4 separate regions of the Homo sapiens genome follow, and regions 1, 3 and 4 are each linked to region 2. The links are contacts of gene promoters, found by promoter capture Hi-C in human tissues and cell types (Jung and others, 2019). All regions are on one chromosome and are shown on one strand. Each heading gives the region's core, a stretch centred on a gene start or on the middle of the fragment in contact. The rest is flanking DNA. Distances are from core to core; before and after follow the strand shown.

What was found. Contacts are between HindIII fragments. The study calls those that stand out against the background at their distance.
Region 1: a fragment that was not itself captured here is called in contact with the fragment with the promoter of CHAF1B in region 2 in 2 of the 25 tissues and cell types used here (dorsolateral prefrontal cortex and lymphoblastoid cells).
Region 3: a contact is called between a fragment that was not itself captured here and the fragment with the promoter of CHAF1B in region 2, in 2 of the 25 tissues and cell types used here (dorsolateral prefrontal cortex and lymphoblastoid cells).
Region 4: a contact is called between a fragment that was not itself captured here and the fragment with the promoter of CHAF1B in region 2, in 1 of the 25 tissues and cell types used here (lymphoblastoid cells).

The regions. Positions count from the first base shown.
Region 1 is chr21:36,875,076-36,877,775 of GRCh38, reverse strand. All of the region lies in intron 6 of HLCS (holocarboxylase synthetase), which reads left to right. Among named protein-coding and RNA genes, the nearest start is that of HLCS-AS1, 90 kb to the left of the region's middle. The HindIII fragment of the contact is 4,203 bases long and covers 1-2,700 here.
Region 2 is chr21:36,384,008-36,386,707 of GRCh38, reverse strand. CHAF1B (chromatin assembly factor 1 subunit B) reads right to left here and starts at 1,316. Exons shown (of 14, transcript NM_005441.3): 1 at 1,257-1,316; 2 at 446-648. The coding sequence starts at 571. RefSeq lists enhancers at 1-363, 364-865 and silencers at 985-1,084, 1,115-1,484. The HindIII fragment of the contact is 18,705 bases long and covers 1-2,700 here.
Region 3 is chr21:36,107,060-36,109,759 of GRCh38, reverse strand. The region is part of intron 1 of CBR1-AS1 (CBR1 antisense RNA 1); the gene reads left to right. It overlaps LOC105369306 (a long non-coding RNA gene), which reads right to left. Exons shown (of 2, transcript NR_147887.1): 2 at 70-2,162. Among named protein-coding and RNA genes, the nearest start is that of CBR1-AS1, 18 kb to the left of the region's middle. The HindIII fragment of the contact is 4,793 bases long and covers 1-2,700 here.
Region 4 is chr21:36,083,132-36,085,831 of GRCh38, reverse strand. The region is part of intron 2 of CBR1-AS1 (CBR1 antisense RNA 1); the gene reads left to right. Among named protein-coding and RNA genes, the nearest start is that of CBR1, 14 kb to the right of the region's middle. The HindIII fragment of the contact is 3,563 bases long and covers 1-2,700 here.

The DNA.
Region 1 (2,700 bases), core at 196-2,695, 490 kb before region 2:
ATAGTGCAGGTCTGCTGGAAGGAAATGCCAAAGGAAGTTTCAAAAGGTGAAAGGAAAAACACTAGAGGGAAACTTGAGTCTTTAGGAAGGAATGCTCTCTGGACAAATATCTGGGTAAATTTAAAATACTCCCCCAACACACATATATCTACCTAAAGCAAAATTGTAGCATCATCTTACATAGTCTTACATTCATTGGTAGAATACATATGACAACTCTAGCAAAAAGGAACAACAAAGGGGTGGTAAATGGACCTATAAGATTGTAACATTTCTGCATTTGATCTGACATGGTACAATATTAATGCTAAGTTGATATAAAAGGTAAGGATGTACATTGTAATCCCTAGGATAACCACTAAACACATAAGGCAAAAGATACAGTTCAAAAGCCAATAGATAAAATGCCATTCTAAAAAAAAAATCTAAAAGAAGTCAGGAAAAGAGGACTAGAAACACACACAAAAAAAAGAGAGAAAAAAATAAAAATTAACCAAATGGTTTAACTCAATTCAACCTTATCAATATTTACATTAAATGATAATAGACTAAGCCCTGTTATTAAAAGGCAGAAAATGTTAGAATGGATTTTTTAAAAAGCAAGACCTGAGTATATGTTCTCTTCAAGACACACTTCAATTATAAAGACACAGGTTAGAAGTAAAAGGATAGGAAATTATATACCACATTAACAGCCTAAGGAGGTTGGAGTGACTTTTTAAGCAGCAGACAAAATTCACTTTAAGACAAAGAAGTACAAAAGATGGGGAGGGATATTTCACAGTGACAATAGGGGTAATTCATAGAGAACAGATAACAACTCATGGATGTGTATTTACCTAATAACAGAGCTTTAAAGTATATGATGCAAAAATGGACAGAATAAAAGAAATAGAGAAGTCCACCGTCATAGTTGGAGATTTCAGCAATGCTCTCTTAGCCCATGATGGAACAGCTAACCAAAAATCATGAAAAACATAGATAATCTGGATAACACTCTCAACCACTTTCACCTTCCTGATACCTAATACTTCCAGAACACTATACCTTGCCAAACTCACCTTGTTTCAAGTGTGCTTGGTATGTTCACCAAGGTAGACTATGTGCTGGGTCATAAAACAAGTCTCCAAAAGCCTAAAGTGATTGAAATCACAGAGTATATTCCCTGTCCACCATGGAATTAAATTAGAAATCAATAACAAAAATGGATCTAGGAAACCCACAAGTATTTAGAAAGTAAACAGCACACATCTAAATAGTCCATTGGTCAAGCAAGAAATCACAAGGGAAAGTACGAACTGTTTTGAAACTGCATAAGACCTACGTAGAGAAACCATGATCATGGTTTGGAAGAGTTAGTACTGGTAAAATGCCAGTTTGCTGTAAGTTGATGTACGAATTTGGTACAAGCTCAATCAAAATCACGGCAGGTATTTTTGTGGAAATGTATACGAAAATGTCACAGGATCCTTAGAGTATTGCTTTTCCAGCCAGAAACCTCTGTGGCTGGTGGTACCTTTGCCTGAGTTTTGTTCGGGCCTGCTGGGCTCATTCAGCCCTGGCAGGCTGCACTTGGCTCGCACTCTCAGCCTGGATCCCATGCCTGCCACGGGTGAGCCAGGCGCACACTGGCGAGGGGTTGTGAACGAGCAAGCTTGGGGTCTGGCCACTGTGCACAGGCAGGCCAGTGCACAGTGGCTGCTGCGGTGGGGCAGGCAGCTCCATGCCCTGGCACGGGTGCTGCCTCCGTGCAAGGCTGAGGCTAGATCAGATGTACCACAAGTGGCTTCTGCTGCAGGCACCAGCACCTAGACAAGGGGAATGTGGTGGCATCCAGAAACTTGGAGACACCAGGAACTGCAGAGCCCCAAAGAGGGTGTCACAGCCCTGGCTTGGGGAGCCCCTAGGTCTGGCTCCCCGAAGAGCTGCCTCTCTTCTCTCCTCATCACCTGCAACATGGCGAGCAGGGGGACGTTGCCCCTGTTTGTGTTACAGCTCTCTTAGTTCCACCATTGGGCAGGTCCCAAGTTCTTGTCCTGCATCCAGGAAGAAGGAGGTATGTGGACAATTGGAGGGCGAGCAAGGCAGAGAGAAGCTTCATTGAGTGGCAGAACAGCTCTCAGGAGACTTGAAGTGGGTAGCTCCTTCCTGCAGGCAGATCGTCCCGATGAGTGTCCAGCTCTTAGTGGACAGGAGACCTGTAGTGTGTAGCTCCTTTCCGCAGACATGTTATCCCAACATCTGTCTGGCTCTCAGCGAAGAGGAGACCCATGGTGGGTAGCTCCTTTCTGCAGACAGGTTGTCCCGACATGTGTCCAGCTCTCAGCGGGGTCTTCCAGAGGAGAGTGTGAGTGGCTGAATCTGGGGTTTTTATGTTGTCACAATGGAGGAAGTGTGTGCTGACTGGTCCTTGGGTGTCCCTGGCTGGTCCTGGAAAAAGCACCATCCGAATGGCCAAACAGTTGTCAATGAAATTCTCACTCCAGGCCGTGGACCTCACCTGGAACTGGCAGCCTGGAGCCCAGGCTTCAGGCTTGAAGGTGTGGTTTCACCAGGAACTGGCTTCTTCCTGCTTAGGAGCCTGTCTGCCTCCCGCTGCCATCAACATGCTGTCCGTGGTGCCCAGCTGTCTATGCTGAGGGGCACCCACAGGCCTGTACAAAGTCACGCTTAGTCCTCTGGTCTCCCTCCTGCGTTCAT
Region 2 (2,700 bases), core at 67-2,566:
CTCTTTTGCTTTCATTGTTCACCGCAGGCCCTGGAAATTTAGCATTCTGGGCTAGATGACAAAGTAGTTTAGTTTGTTGACATACGTTAATTCATTCATTCATTTACTTAAGAGAAGGGTCTGGCTCTGTCACCCAGGCTGGAGTGCAGTGGAGTGATCGTTGCTTGCTTCAAACTCCTAGGCTCAAGCGATCCTCTCACTTCAACTTCCCAAGTAGCTGGGCCTACAGCTGCACACTGCCACGTCCCGCTACTTTTTCATGTCTGGCTGTTGCCCAGGCTGGTGTCGAACTCCTGGACTCAAGCGATCCTCTCACCTCAGCCTCCCAAAGCACTGGGATTACAGGCGTAAGCCACCGCGCCCAGCCGACACTGGTTTTAAGTAAAAGAATGAAAACTATTGCTTCAAGCAGTGTTCCCGGATGTCTATCTCTGCCCCAGTTTACCCTGACATTGGTGTCCACGCCGGCAGACGCCAGTCTGTGGATCCTCCCAGCCGTCCCATGCTGGAAGTCCAGGCTGTACACGGGCTCCTTGTTGTGCCAGGCTATTTCACAAGTGATGACTTTCATCCTCCTGAGTCTCGAAGGGGAAAAACGTTTCTCGGGCACCGTTCTACTTCTTCAAGACAGGAGAAAGCTGCAAAATGCTGGTGATGGATTAAACAACAGTGTTAACAGCAGCAAAGGGTTATTGAGCGCTGAATAGGGGCCAGGAGCCATTTAAAATGCACACTGCATTGGGAAAGGATGTTAACGTTGCCATCTGACAATAACACCTTGCTAGCTCCACCTAAAATGCTTCGCTGGGTCCTGACATCCACAAGTTTATGATACGCCGCTACATCCAGAAAAGCAAAACGAAACACCCAGGTAAAGGCTACCTAGGGGCCCCGGCCGTCTGCACGGCCTGTCCCCGCTTAGTAGGGGCTAGGGGCGCGCCCTGAGAGCCCGGGGAGGGGCCCGCCCCGGGAGGAGCCTCCCGGAAGAGGGGGCCAAACGGGGTAGGGGACCGGGGCGGCGGGGCGAGAGGAGAACCCCGCCTTTCCCAGGGACCGGGCGCTGGGCCCGGGAAGCTGGGACTGAGGCCGCCGGGAGGAGGCCGCGCGGGGCCGGGGGTGGACGGGGCCCCGCCGCCCCAACGCGCGCCGCTCCGGAGCTATCCCGGGGCCCAGGGGCCCGCCCTCGGCGAGGGCCTCTGGCCCGGACCGACGCGACCAAAAGAGCCGCGGAGCTGCCCGGGCCAGGGAAGCCGTACCTGGAGGGACCCGGACAGTCAGAGGCACCGTCACCTCCCGCGCAGCGCGCGCCGCTTCCCGCGCGCCGCAGGCCCCGCCCCCGCATGGGCGGGACCTCATAGACGCCCCGCCCCTCCAGCGGCCCTCAGGTCCCGCCCGACGTGGGCGGTACCCCAGGGAAGCCCCGCCCACTCATAGACGCCAAGGCGAGTCCTGCTCTGGCCCTGGGGTCGGAATCCCGGCCGGAATTTATGCCTGCCAGACCCACGACCGAAGGAAGAATGGATTCATTATTATTTATTATTATTATCCATTACTTATTCCTTGTTGATTCGCTCTTTTAGCAAAGGTTTACAGAGCCTGGGCTGTGTGTTAGACAGACCCTATGCTGGCGCTGGGCACTTGGAGGGCTAACACAACCGGTTCTCTTGCCCCTTCTGCAAACAAAAACTGAGATTTTTGGGTTTTCTGTATTGGCTTCTAGAACATTTTGGAGAGTTCAAAGCTATGAAATTGTTCAGTACCTAGCGCAAGGTTGCTTACATTTTATTATTATAGTAGATGCAGTTATAAACCCTTTTTAAGAACAGACTAACATTTTAAAGTGAGGCTGTAAATCAGTCGGTAGGCAGAGATAGATACCTCAGGCTTTTCGAAATGGGACGTTTCCAAATGAGACCTAATTTATCTGTGGGCTTCGCAGAAGGCCAGGAAACAAGTACCTCTGGATGCGCTGCTTTTACTGGATAAAAGAAACACACAGGGTTATCTGAGGAGCCAACTGCTCTAGGATTTTTGGAAAAAAAGAACAGACATGGATTCTTATATAAATACCGGCTGATGCTTTTAGCCAGCTTTATGAAAGGTACAGAAATTGCCTACAAATCCGTGTCTCATGTTGATGAGAATGGCTGTATGCTCCTTGAAGCCTGATTTCTACAGGAAGCTAGAATAACATAATCCGGATATGCAGTTTTTAGATTTTTCTCTTCAGGATTTACAGAGCTTGGACTGGGAATGACTATATACTTTAGATAATATGGCTGTTCTAAAAGTACAGATTCCTGGCCCTACTCAGCCCCATGATTCCGAATATCCAGCAGAGGCCCGTGCTCCAGGGGCTTGCATTTTCATAAACTCCCCGGTGGGTGTGATCATCAGTCTGTTTTGGAAAGCTCTGGATTCTTCGTGTCTCTCAAACATAAAATTTCTCCAAATTTCTCATAAATGCTGTTCATTCACAAATGAATAATCTGCCCACCTCTTGAAGTGTCACGACTCTGAACTGTGGATTTAAAAGATAAAAACACATGCTTTAAGTATTAAAAGTACATGAAGGAGTTGGCTTTCTTGGCGAACATTTTAGAGATCCGACTTCAGTGCCAACTTGATGAGCCAACACGGGCAGGGGATGCGGCTCTAGAGAGAGGCCCTGGGCTGTCAAATATTTTCTCAAAAAAAAAA
Region 3 (2,700 bases), core at 199-2,698, 280 kb after region 2:
AGGTTTTAGTAAGTGCCGTTTTTATAAACCTCTGCACCAACGCAGACAAAACTCCTCAGACACTGGATTAAAGAAGGAAGAGGTTTACTTGGCTGAGAGCATCGGCAGACTTGCATCTTAAGAGCTGAGCTCCCTGCAAACTGAATTCTTGGCCTTTTTAAAGGCTTACAACTCTAAAGGGGTCCACATGAAAAGGTCGTGATAAATCCAGCAAGCGTGGGGAACGTGACTGGAGGCTACATGCATCAGCTAACAGAACAGAAAGTTTTGCAATGCTTTTTCATACAATGTCTGGAATTTACAGATAACACAAGTAGTTTAGGTCTGGGGTTGATGTTATTATTATTACCTTTTTAACTCCTAGGGCCAGGTGGTGGTGCCAAGGTTGTCTGGCTATTTATCTTACTTTTGCTTCTTTCCAGCTTTTTGCTTTCTCTCTTTCCTCCTGTCTTGTGAACTAGGCAAGGTGGTGGGAGGAGGGCAGCAGGAGTTGTAGCGGTCTCCTTCCTTAGTGTGACACAACACCCGACAAGAATAAGCACACCTATGATGGCTGCGATGGAAGTAAGAATTGGGGCTACTATTCTTTTCCATTTACTGAACCACTTTTCCAGCCATCCTGTAAAGGGGTCATTTACCCCCGAGTTATTGGCTAACTCAGGATAGAGCAGTCAGACCTTGCAATGCCTTTGTTATACTTCCATTAGGGGCGGTGTTGTTTGGGATGAAGTTACAACATTGATTTTTAATTATGATGCAAATTCTTCCTTTTTCTGCTAATATCATGTCTAAGGCTATCCTATTTTTCCCAAGCCATCTGGCTAGTAGCCCCTAATTGCTCAGCTATTCCTTTAACAGCATCTCTAGTGTAGTTAATGGATGGCTGTTGGTTGTAATAGATGTAGTTTATCCAATTTACATTTTATTGTCACCCACCAAAATATTGACTCAAATCCTGCAGCTATTTGATTTCAGGCTTTAAATTGATCTGGTATTCCCTGTGGGACTGTAATTATGTCTAAATAGATGTGAGAGTCAAAAGACCCATAAGGGGCTTCTTTTGCTTTATGATATCTTATTTTTCCTTTCTCTGGTTGATGAAATGCCAGCGTGAAAGGGATAGCCAACTGGACTAAAGCAAGTGCCACTTCAGTTACTCGGCAGAGTGTCCAGTAAAGGTCCATCATAATACCACTACACATCTGCTCAGGGATGAGTAAGGGCTAATTGGTAAGCTCTTGAAATTTCTTAATCTCACTGCATCCCTTCAGGACTCCAAGGAACGCTAAGTTTCCTCCCGGTCCTGAGAGACACGAAGTGAACTTAGTGTTGGGAGATGGAAGCTGGATGGCCCTTGGGGGCTGACCCGCAGGGTGTTGAACTTCGGGATGTAGCAGAGAGAGAGCTTGGCACGACTTGTTACCCCAGGCTGAATAATCCTGGGAAAGATCTGCCATGCAGGCCATGCCCAGTCAACTAGAGGGCCACCCTAGTGGAAAGGGGACAATCTGGGCTTCTGGCCTGTCATGTGCACAAGCATAAAAATTGCCTTTGTTTAACGTGTGGACAGAATATTTAATCAATTTTAACCAGGCATTTACATTTTTATACCCTGTTTTAATGGCTATGGTTTGCCTTAGGTCTCCTATTTCTACTACCGGGACCTTGCTTTTGTCATTTGGCATGAGGTGAGTCATAGTTTGATTTTGTAGGTTTGGGAAAGGGGCAGCCATAGGAGGTGGAGGAGGGAGAACAAAGCCCACCTTAAAGAAGCCCATAGGATCCTTTCCAGTGACCTCTGCTCCTAAACCACAGAAGCGTTCTAAAGTGGGGTTAGAGTTGCTAGTGGTAGGAATAGTAATGGATATAAGCACTGGGTAAGGAAGGGAAAGGAAAAGATAGATAGACTAAGCTTTCCTTAGCTTTAATTTGGTAGGGCTTGATCCAGGAACAATGGCCCATGATTCTGAGGATAATGGTGCTTGCTTGACTCATGTGTGATGTGTCCATCTCTTTCCAACCTTACGAACAGCAGTCTCAGTGGTTAGCAGCACAAGGTAGGGTCCTTCCCGGGCTGGCTCGAGTTTCCCTTCTTTCCCCTCTTTGATGAGAACGTGATCCCCAGGCTGATGCTGAGGCACTGGAAAGTCCAAAGGCAGCACCTGTGCTAAAAGACCTCTGTTTTAAGGGAAGAGAAGGTGGAGGATAAACCGAGTATATAATTTCTAAGAAATTGATCTTTTGTTTTAAACGTGGGGATATCAACAGTGGACTTTATAGTCCTTCATGCTTTCTTGTTGAGAAATTTTCTTTGGCACCTATTTTTATTAGTTTTTAGACCAAAGAAGGCCAAACACCATTTTGTATTTGACAATGCTTCCTGTATGATTTTTATACCAGATAAGCTAAATTTCATCTTTATATTAGTGTGTTATTAATGTTAAACTTAATTTTAGTAAAACCTTGTAGACATATTTATCCAATTTTTAATGTCTGATCATAATGTAAGATTTTTACAGACTCTTTTTAACCTTTTTATAATTTTTGTTAAAGAGCAGGTTAGTGCTTTAAGAAAAACCTGTTGTGCTTTTATTTTAATGTCCAGTTCACAGAAAAACTGGATGATACCCCTTTAACTTCAGCCAGTATGATTACACACAGAATTTCCTTTACAATTAACATTTCAAAACTTGCTTAAAC
Region 4 (2,700 bases), core at 185-2,684, 300 kb after region 2:
TCAGTACATAGAACATTCTCCAGAATAGACCATATCTTAGGCCACAAAACAAGTCTGAACACATTCAAAAAAACAGAAATCATATCAAGTATCTTTTCTGACCAAGATGGAAGAAAACTAGACATCAATAACAAGAGGAACTCTGGAAATTACACAAACACATGGAAATTAATACAGGCTGGGCATGGTAGCTCATGCCTGTAATCCCAGCACTTTGGGAGGCCGAGGGGGACAGATTGTCTGAAGTCAGGAGTTCGAGACCAGCCTAGCCAACATGGTGAAACCCCATATCTATTAAAAATACAAAAATTAGCTGGGCGTGGCAGTGGACAAAGGCACTGGCTACTGATTGTAGGATTAGGGATCCTGACGATGAAGAAGCAGGGAAGCCTGAAGAATCCTTGGCAGAGGCCAGCACAGCTGGGACCTGGATTTTAGCTCTAGGTTTTATCCCTAGTCTCTCGTTGGCCCTAGAGAACCTAATTTCTAGGGTTTAAAACTTGAGCCTGGTTGGCATGGAGACCTGGGCTGAGGGAACCCTTGGTGTCTCTGGTATGTGGTGAAGTAGCTGTTAGAGATGGGACCCATGAATGTCAGAATGGTTATCCTTGGATTCTAGTTGGTCTGTGCATTTTTTTCGGGGGGGGTGGGGACTATGGGTACATGCTACCATGTCTGGCTAGTTTTTTTTTTGTTTTTGTCTTTGTTTTTAGAGACGAGGTCTTGCTGTGTTGCCCAGGCTGGTCTTGAACTCCTGGGTTCATACAATCCTTCTGCTTTGGCCTCCCAACAGGGCTAGGATTATAGGTGTGAGCCACACAACACCCAGCCTGGCCTGTGCATCTTGATAGAGCAGCAGCAAATCTGTGCACAGCAAGTTGGTAGTGAGATATCACCTGCTGGGACACTGAAGACTTCTTGCTCAAGCTGAAGCCAGCAGCTGATGAGCTCTGAGTGTGAGTGCTTGATGTTTTCCATCTGAACAGGGAGCAATCTGCCCTTGGCATGGAGTTTCTTGTGAGGGACAACTGCTTGGGAGACTGAGATCTCCCAAAAGCTGGTCTTGATGGCACTGATCTCAAGTGACCCTAAGTATTCAAATCACCTACACAAATTCTGCTATTGAGTAAGTTTGAAGCCCTTGCATACAACTGCTCCTGATTCTGAGGATACAATTACTCCATCCCAGCTGCAATGCTATAACCATAGTGCGTTTTGGATTAAAATGGCAACAGGCTGGATCAAGACTTTTTGGGAGGCCTGGAACTTTGTTCTGAAGCTTCAGTTCATATTGGCCAAAGAGGATTAGGAGTTCTATAATTTTCTTTGTCAGATTTTCCACACCTTGTCATGAGTGGGAGTCCCCACCATTAGGTGGCCTTCATAAGCTGGGTTCAGAAAGTTGTTCTCCAAAATTAGCAACCTGAATCTTGTAGGATATACATTTTTGTAGGCTTGTGGACTGCCTCCTGGATTTGTGCCTTCTGTTTGAATCTTCAGATCTTCCCCCTGTACAGAATAGCATCCCCATACTTGGCTTCCTTCTCCATCTTGAAAACAGAGGTTAATGCATCCATTCCAAGAACTCAAGAATTCTCACTGCATTGTGAGAGTCCCAGAAGCTGTCTTTTCTTTTTTTTTTTTTTTTGAGACGGAGTCTTACTCTGTCACCCAGGTAGTGCATTGGTATGATTTCAGCTCACTGCAACCTCCCCTTCCCGGGTTCAAGTGATTCTCCTGCCTCAGCCTCCTGAGTAGCTGGGATTACAGGCATGCACCACTGTGCCTGGCTGATTTTATTTTATTTATTTATTTTTTGAGACGCAGTCTCACTCTATCGCCCAGGCTAGAGCGCAGTGGTGTCATCCTGGCTCACTGCAACTTCCACCTCCCGGGTTCAAGCGATTCTCCTACCTCAGCCTCCCAAGTAGCTGGAATTATAGGCGTGAGCCACTGCACCCGGCCTAATTTTTGTATTTTTAGTAGAGACAGGGTTTCACCATGTTGGTCAGGATGGTCTCGAACTCCTGATCTCAAGTGACTCACCTGCCTCGGCCTCCCAAAGTACTGGGATTACAGGCGTGAGCCACCATGCCCGCCTCTAGAAGCTGTCTTCTTTTGTGTCTTTCACAATTGTCCAAAGACCAGCCCTGCCAGGGGCCTGTTTGTGTTTCTTGTGGTTGCAGTCCTTTAAGGCCTCTAGCATGAAGTGGAGGCACAGGAGGGACGGCGGGGCTCTAGTTCTCCTGAGCTCAGACATGGGGTTGGGGTGAGGACCAGCACCAGCAGCACTAATGATGTGAGCAGCGATGACGCTTCCAGGCCCCACACCTGTGACCTTGCTACCTCTGGTGCTTCTCCCTGATGTGTTCTTCCTTGACCACCCCCACCAAGCCCTCACCTAGTGAGAAAGCAGGTGATATCACATGGCATAGAGAGATGGGAGTAGTGACTTGAAGAGCTACTCTTTGAGGTTATGTTTTTTGCAAACGTGTGTGTGTGTTTTTGTTTTTTTGTTTGTTTGTGTTTTGCAACACAGTTTCACTCTGTTGCCCAGGCTAGAGTGTAGCAGTGTGATCTCGGCTCACTGCAATCTCCGCCTCCCAGGTTCAAGCAATTCTCATGCCTCAGCCTCCCAAGTAGCTGGGATTACAGGTGTGCCACCAGGCTCCGCTAAGTTTTTGTATTTTTAGTAGAGAC